2 separate regions of the Homo sapiens genome follow, and region 1 is linked to region 2. Evidence: promoter capture Hi-C in human tissues and cell types (Jung and others, 2019). All regions are on one chromosome and are shown on one strand. Each heading gives the region's core, a stretch centred on a gene start or on the middle of the fragment in contact. The rest is flanking DNA. Distances are from core to core; before and after follow the strand shown. Region 1 overlaps ATP9A (ATPase phospholipid transporting 9A (putative)). Region 2 holds the start of ATP9A (ATPase phospholipid transporting 9A (putative)).

Evidence for each region. Contacts are between HindIII fragments. The study calls those that stand out against the background at their distance.
Region 1: a fragment that was not itself captured here is called in contact with the fragment with the promoter of ATP9A in region 2 in 3 of the 25 tissues and cell types used here (H1 embryonic stem cells, liver and stomach).

What each region holds. Positions count from the first base shown.
Region 1 is chr20:51,674,035-51,677,339 of GRCh38, reverse strand. ATP9A (ATPase phospholipid transporting 9A (putative)) reads left to right here. Exons shown (of 28, transcript NM_006045.3): 10 at 1,132-1,208; 11 at 3,027-3,187. Among named protein-coding and RNA genes, the nearest start is that of ATP9A, 93 kb to the left of the region's middle. The HindIII fragment of the contact is 6,386 bases long and covers 1-3,305 here.
Region 2 is chr20:51,766,755-51,769,954 of GRCh38, reverse strand. ATP9A (ATPase phospholipid transporting 9A (putative)) reads left to right here and starts at 1,565. Exons shown (of 28, transcript NM_006045.3): 1 at 1,565-1,653. The coding sequence starts at 1,586. The HindIII fragment of the contact is 32,964 bases long and covers 1-3,200 here.

The DNA of each region.
Region 1 (3,305 bases), core at 783-3,282, 93 kb after region 2:
CAAAGGGTTTTCAGTGGTTAGTGACTGTTCTTTTGGTCAGTGTAGCCGCAGATCATTGGTTTGGCCCTAATGTAAAACCTTTGATGTTCTCATAGTGTGGCTGTTGGGTTGGGCGAGGTGGCTCATGCCTGTAATCCAAGCACTTTGGGAGGCCAAGGTGGGAGGATCACTTGAATCCAGGAATTCAAGACCAGCCTGGGCAACATAGTGAGACCTCATTTCTACAAAAAAAACAAAAATTAGCCAAGCATGGTGGCATGTGCCTGTGGTCCCAGCTACTCGGGAGGCTGAAGTGGGAGGATCGCTTGAGCCCAGGATGTTGAGGCTGCAGTGAGCTATTAATATGATTGTGCCACTGCACTCTAGCCTGGGCAACAGAGTAAGACCCTCTCTCAAAAAAAAAAAAAAAAAAAAAAAAAAAAGAGACTGGGCGTGGTGGCTCATGCCTGTAATCCCAGAACTTTGGGAGGCCGAGGCAGATGGATCAGTTGAAGTCAGGAGTTCAAGACCAGCCTGGCCAACGTGGTGAAACCCCATCTCAACTAAAAATACAAAAATTGAGGTTGGGCGTGGTGGCTCATGCCTGTAATCCCAGCACTCTGGGAGGCTGAGGCAGATGGATCAGTTGAAATCAGGAGTTCAAGACCAGCCTGGCCTACATGGTGAAACCCCGTATCTACTAAAAATACAAAAATTAGCCGGGTGTGGTGGCAGGTGCCTGTAATCCAAGCTACTCCGGAGGCTGAGGCAGGATAATTGCTTGAACCCAGGAGGTAGAGGTTGCAGTAAGCGGAGATCACGCCATTGCATTCCAGCCTGGGGAACAAGAGTAAAACTCCGCCTCAAAACAAAACAAACCCAAAAGTTAGCCAGGCATGGTGGTGCACGCCTATAATCCCAGTTATTGAGGAGGCTAAGGCAGGAGAATCGCTTGAACATGGTGGGAAGCTTTCAGTTAGCCCATGTTGTGCCACTGCACTCCAGACTCCAGCATGAGCAACAGAGCAAGACTCTGTCTCAAAAAAAAAAAAGAACCCAGTCTCTCAAGAGGATCAGACTCTTCTATTTGCAAGCCTGCCTGTCTGTATTAATATTTCTTTTCTTTTTTTTTTTTTCTTTTTTCCATTTTAGGTACTGTTGTGGGTGTTGTTCTTTACACTGGCAGAGAACTCCGGAGTGTCATGAATACCTCAAATCCCCGAAGTAAGGTGTGTACGAGGTCATGGGGTACATTGACCGGCTGTGGGCTGGTTGGTTCTGGTGGGTGAGTGACGAGATATTAAAATAGGAACACCTAAGAGTGATATTTATACAGACATTTTATCTTTTTATGCATATGTGTGTGTGTGTATGCAATAAATACATATACAATACACATATATAATACAGTACGTAAATATGTAGTTACATGTTTGTGGATATATGACTTTTTTGTGCCTTTTTTTTTTTTTTCTTTTTTTGAGACAGGGTCTCACTTTGTTGCTCAGGCAGGAATACAGTGGCTTGATTTTGGCTCACTGTAACCTCTGCCTCCCGGGCTCAAGCAATCCTCCCAACTCCACCTCCTGAGTAGCTGGGACTATAGGCGTGTACCACCATGCCTGGCTAATTTTTGTATTTTTAGTAGAGATGGGGTTTCACCATGTTGGCCAGGCTGGTCTCAAGCTCCGGACATCAAGTGATCCTCCCTCCTCGGCCTCCCAAAGTGCTGGGATTACAGGCGTGAGCCATGGCGCCCAGCATTTTTTGTGCTTTTAGGTTAAACTGTGGAGCACGTACGGTTTGCACGCCTTGTGTTTCACCCTTCACGTGCATCTCATTTCATCTTCATAACAGCCCTGTGAGTGCATGCTTCCTTTATCCATGAGAAACGGCTTCAGGAAGCACCGTGCCCTGTCCAGGCTACACAGTGAGGACGGGGCAGGCCCATGTGATTCAAACCGTGACCCACCATCACAGCTTACCCCTCCTCCAATTTTTAAGAGTCAGAACATTACAGAATAATTGTCTTTTGTCAGTAGCAGGAAGGAATGCTGTGTCTCCTAAACTTCAGTCATGGTCGCTCCACCATTAGACGTTACAGCCATCATTACAACTATAAAATCGTTTGTTTAATGTTTTAGCCTTATCCTGGGGCATGTTTCTATGAAGTTATGGATATGATTTGTTACTTTTTAAAAGACTAGACATGAAGATAAATGTATTATTATTAAAATAATAATGTCCAGGGCCGGGCACGGTGGCTCACACCTGTAATCCCAGCACTTTGGGAGGCCGAGGCAGGTGGATCACCTGAGGCCAGGAGATTGAGACCAGCCTGGCCAACATGGCGAAACTCCGTCTCTACTAAAAATACAAAAATTAGCTGGGTGTGGTGGCGGGCGCCATAATCCCAGCTTATCGGGAGGCTGAGGTAGGAGAATCGCTTGAACCCAGGAGGTGTGAGCCAAGATTGTGCCCTTGCATTCCAGCCTGGGTGACAAAGCGAGACTCCATCTCTAAATAAATAAATAATAAAATAATGTCCATTAATGCACCACCTAAAAATCGGGTGCCACCACTGGTGTGCGCCCCAGACTTTCAGGCACTGCCGAGTTGGTGTTGGGTAGGGTGCTGAGAGTTTAGGATCTGAGTTGTTTTACAAGGCCAAGGGCACTCTGCAGGGTGGTGGAGGCTATTCAGCACACGACCCAGCCAGCACAGCAGTAACTCGCTGATACATTTCCAAGTGTAAATCTTCTTTAGTTGTAAACATTTTTTTGAGTTTTCAGAATTCTTTGAGTTCCCTTGGATGCCTGTTATGAACACCAGCCCATGGAAGCAGTGTTCTTAGACCAAAGATATGAGGATCGATGGATCCCACTGTCCTACCTGGGGTAGAGGTGTTTGTAGGGGAAGGACCAGCTCTCCGGCAGGCTGAGTTAGTGCAGTGAGGCTCAGCTCACTGCAGCCTCCACCTCCTGGTTTAGGTTTGAGATTAGTTACACCAGCTCATCTCAAGCCCTGGTTTGTGCTTCGTCCCACAGATCGGCCTGTTCGACTTGGAAGTGAACTGCCTCACCAAGATCCTCTTTGGTGCCCTGGTGGTGGTCTCGCTGGTCATGGTTGCCCTTCAGCACTTTGCAGGCCGTTGGTACCTGCAGATCATCCGCTTCCTCCTCTTGTTTTCCAACATCATCCCCATTAGGTAAGCAGGCGACGAGCTTGAGTTTGGCTGCCGTGACATCTTCTTCTCTTTACTCATTCAAAGATGATGGTTCTGTGGCTTTTATTATTATTATTGTTTTCTGAGATGGAGTTTTGCT
Region 2 (3,200 bases), core at 316-2,815:
GGGCCGGATGCTCTTCCTTCATCCCAATTAAATCTCTATGGCATTTAGCAAATGCCAAGGAAGAGCCCAGCACTTTGGGAGGCCGAGGTGGACAGATCACATGAGGCCAGGAGTTCAAGACCAGTCTGGCCAACATGGTGAAACCCCATCTCTACTAAAACTACAAAAATTAGCCAGGCACATGTATAACCCCAGCTACCCGGGTAGCTGAGGCAGGAGAATTGCTTCAACCTGGGAGGCAGAGATTGCAGTGAGCTGAGATTTTGCCACTGCACTCCAGCCTGGGCGACAGAGGGAGATTCTGTTTCAAAAAGAAAAAAAAGAAACGGCGTCCAACATGATCAGTCATTAGATGTAACTATGTAAAAGTCAGCTTTAGATTAGTTTATATGGTATTATTACAATTTCAGGCTCTTTAGTTACATATTGATTTTTAAACTCCCTCACTTTGTTCCTTCCCTCTGTTTTTTTTTTCCTGCTCTCATAACTTTATCAGGCCTTTGAAAAGTTCATGGGTCCCAGACACTGTGTGGGAGGGTGTGGAAGTGAGTGTGGATGTGGGCTGCGGTGGAGATAGGTGTGTGTGTGAGACCGTGAATCACAGTGACAGGTAATGCAGGGTGACTGTCTGAGGCCTGAGAGTGGGGCCCATGTGCAAGCCCAAGAAAGTGGCTGGTGTGAGAATGAGGGTGTTCAGACTATTGAAGGGTGTTTGGATGAAAGAGGCAGGTGCGTGTGTGTCATGGTGAGTTCCCAGAATCCAGATAGAGAATGAGGGTGAGGATGGTGAAGGTCAGAGGGTGAAGGAGTCTGATAAGCTGAGGGTCCCTGTGTGACTGTGATTTCTGCAGGCACATGGGTGTGAGGCTTGAGAAACTGGGTGCATGGATGATGGTGACCAACAGGAGGGTGAGAGTGTTATGTGTGTGTGCAGGACTCACATGTGATTGTGAATGTTAGATGTTGCAGGCAGTGAGCAGTGGCAGGTGTGTGTGTAGGGCCTGGGCGTGAATATGCACGTTGGTGCAAGAGTGAGTGAGAATGACTGACTGATGGGGTGAGCGTGGCCGGGTGCCCGTGTGATTGTGCATGTCAGATATTGGTGGGGATGAGTGTCACAGCGCGCGTGTATAGGGCTGGGATGTGATTGTGAATGTGGGATTTTGCGGGGGGTGCGGTGGCAGGGTGCGCGCACGGCGGGCGTGGGCGGGGGGCGCGTGGCCGGGTGGGCGCGCGTGGGGGGCGCGGGCGCGGGCCGGGGGCGGGGACACTGCAGCGGTCGCGGCGGCGCGGACACGGCCCGGCCGCCCCCCGTGGCAGGCGCGGCGCGGCGCGGAGCGAGCGGGCGCAGCGCGGAGCTCGGGCCCATGGTGCGCCCGTGTCCGTCGGTCGGGCCGCGCGGGCGCTCCGCGCGTGGCCCGGCGCTCGCGAGCTCGCCCCCTCGCTGCGGGCCCGGCCCGCCCGCTGCCGCCGCCTCCTCCCCCGGGGCGGCGCGGCGCCGGCGGGCGGCGGCGCGGAGGCCGGACCGGGCGGCGGCCCAGGCGGCGCGGGGGGCGCGGCGGCCAAGGCGGGCGGCGCCGCCGACATGACGGACAACATCCCGCTGCAGCCGGTGCGCCAGAAGAAGCGGATGGACAGCAGGCCCCGCGCCGGGTGAGTGGGCCTGGGCCCGTGTTTTCCTTTGTCCGCGCCTCCCGGAGCCCGGCGCTCGGGCCAGCCTGGCCGGGCCTGACAGGTTGGCCGCGCGCCGCGCCCGGCGCCATGAGCCTGGGGCAGGGCTGGGGAGGCGGGGAGGTGGGGAGGGGGTCCCTGCGCTTCAGCCCCGGGCGGCACCTAGCCTGATGCCGGCCCTTTGGGGTTCGAGCGCCCGGTTGCCTGGGCCTCCTTGCCCACCTTCCTTTAGAAACCCCGAGAAGCCGGGCCCGCCCCAGTGCTGTTTACACACTCGCGGAATTCGGATCAGCCGTGCTTTCTCACCGTTTTATTGTTCCGTAATTAATATCTGTCCGTAATTAATATCTGAGGTAACAATTTGGTCAGTGTCACACCGAGCTCTGCGCTTGGAGCATTACTCGGGAGCCCAGATATGCTCAGCTTTTAGGGGGGCGCGGCCTACGCCTCGGGGTACCCCATCAGCGCCCCTGGGTCCCAGCCCCAGGAGGCTGCGCCGAGACCACCTGCGCTCCGGTGGCCCCTTCCCCCTCCGCCCGGGGTGGACCCGAACCAGCAGTCGCAGGAGGGTGGGAGGGTCTCCTACTGGCCGCTTGGTGACACTACCCCTTGTGTTCTCCCCCCACAATTTCGGGGAAGGAATCCCACGGCTGGGACAGGGGCTGCCACCTGCTGTGCCCTTCCCGCAGTAGGAGACCCCGAGGGCAGCTTAGGCGCGGAACAGGCAAGGGTTTTTCTGCATTTGGGAAGAGGGGACGGGTTGGTATTTTGCGCCTCGCCGTCTTCCTGTTCGGAGGATGGCAGCGTGACGCGTTGAGGTTTGCGGGGCTCTCGTATCGCCTGCCATAGACTTACCTGGGCGTGAGGGGCGGGGGTGGGAAGGACGGGGGTGGGCGCTGGTGCAAATGCAGATTTCCCGGCCCCCGCCTAGACCCGCCAATCAGAGTTCTGGGGGGCGGGGCCTGGAGATGTGCAGCTCCACAGGCCGCGCAGGTGAGGCTGGAGCCCGCGGGAGGCTGAGCGCGGTGTTGGGCGGGGCCTGCGGCCGCTCTGCTCCGCCCTTCCTCGGGCGTCTGGTCCTCTCTGGGCATTTCCCGGTGGCGGCCGCTTATTGCAGCGTCAGTTGCTCGGAACAGGAGACGCGGCGGGTGGAGTGAACCATAAGGGTGGCTTCACCAGGTGTCAGTGGAATTAAAAAAAAAAAAAAAAAGAATGGTGCTGGCGGCCATTTTGTGGGGTCTTTGTCCCTGGCTTCCTGAATCCTCCGAAGAAGAGGCCTCACTGATATTACCCAGAGGAGGAAACTGGAGGTTACGGAGGTTAAGGGCTATAGGGAAGACTGCAAAATGGAGATTGAACTCCGGATTGTCTGACCCAAAGATAGTTCCCTCACTCCTCCCTTCTCTGTTTTGCGTTTATTATTATTAGTATTATTATTATTATTGAGACGGAGTCTCCCTCTGTTGCCCACGCTGGAGTGCTGTGGCGAGATCTCGGCTCACTGCAACCTCCGCCTCCCGGGTTCAAGC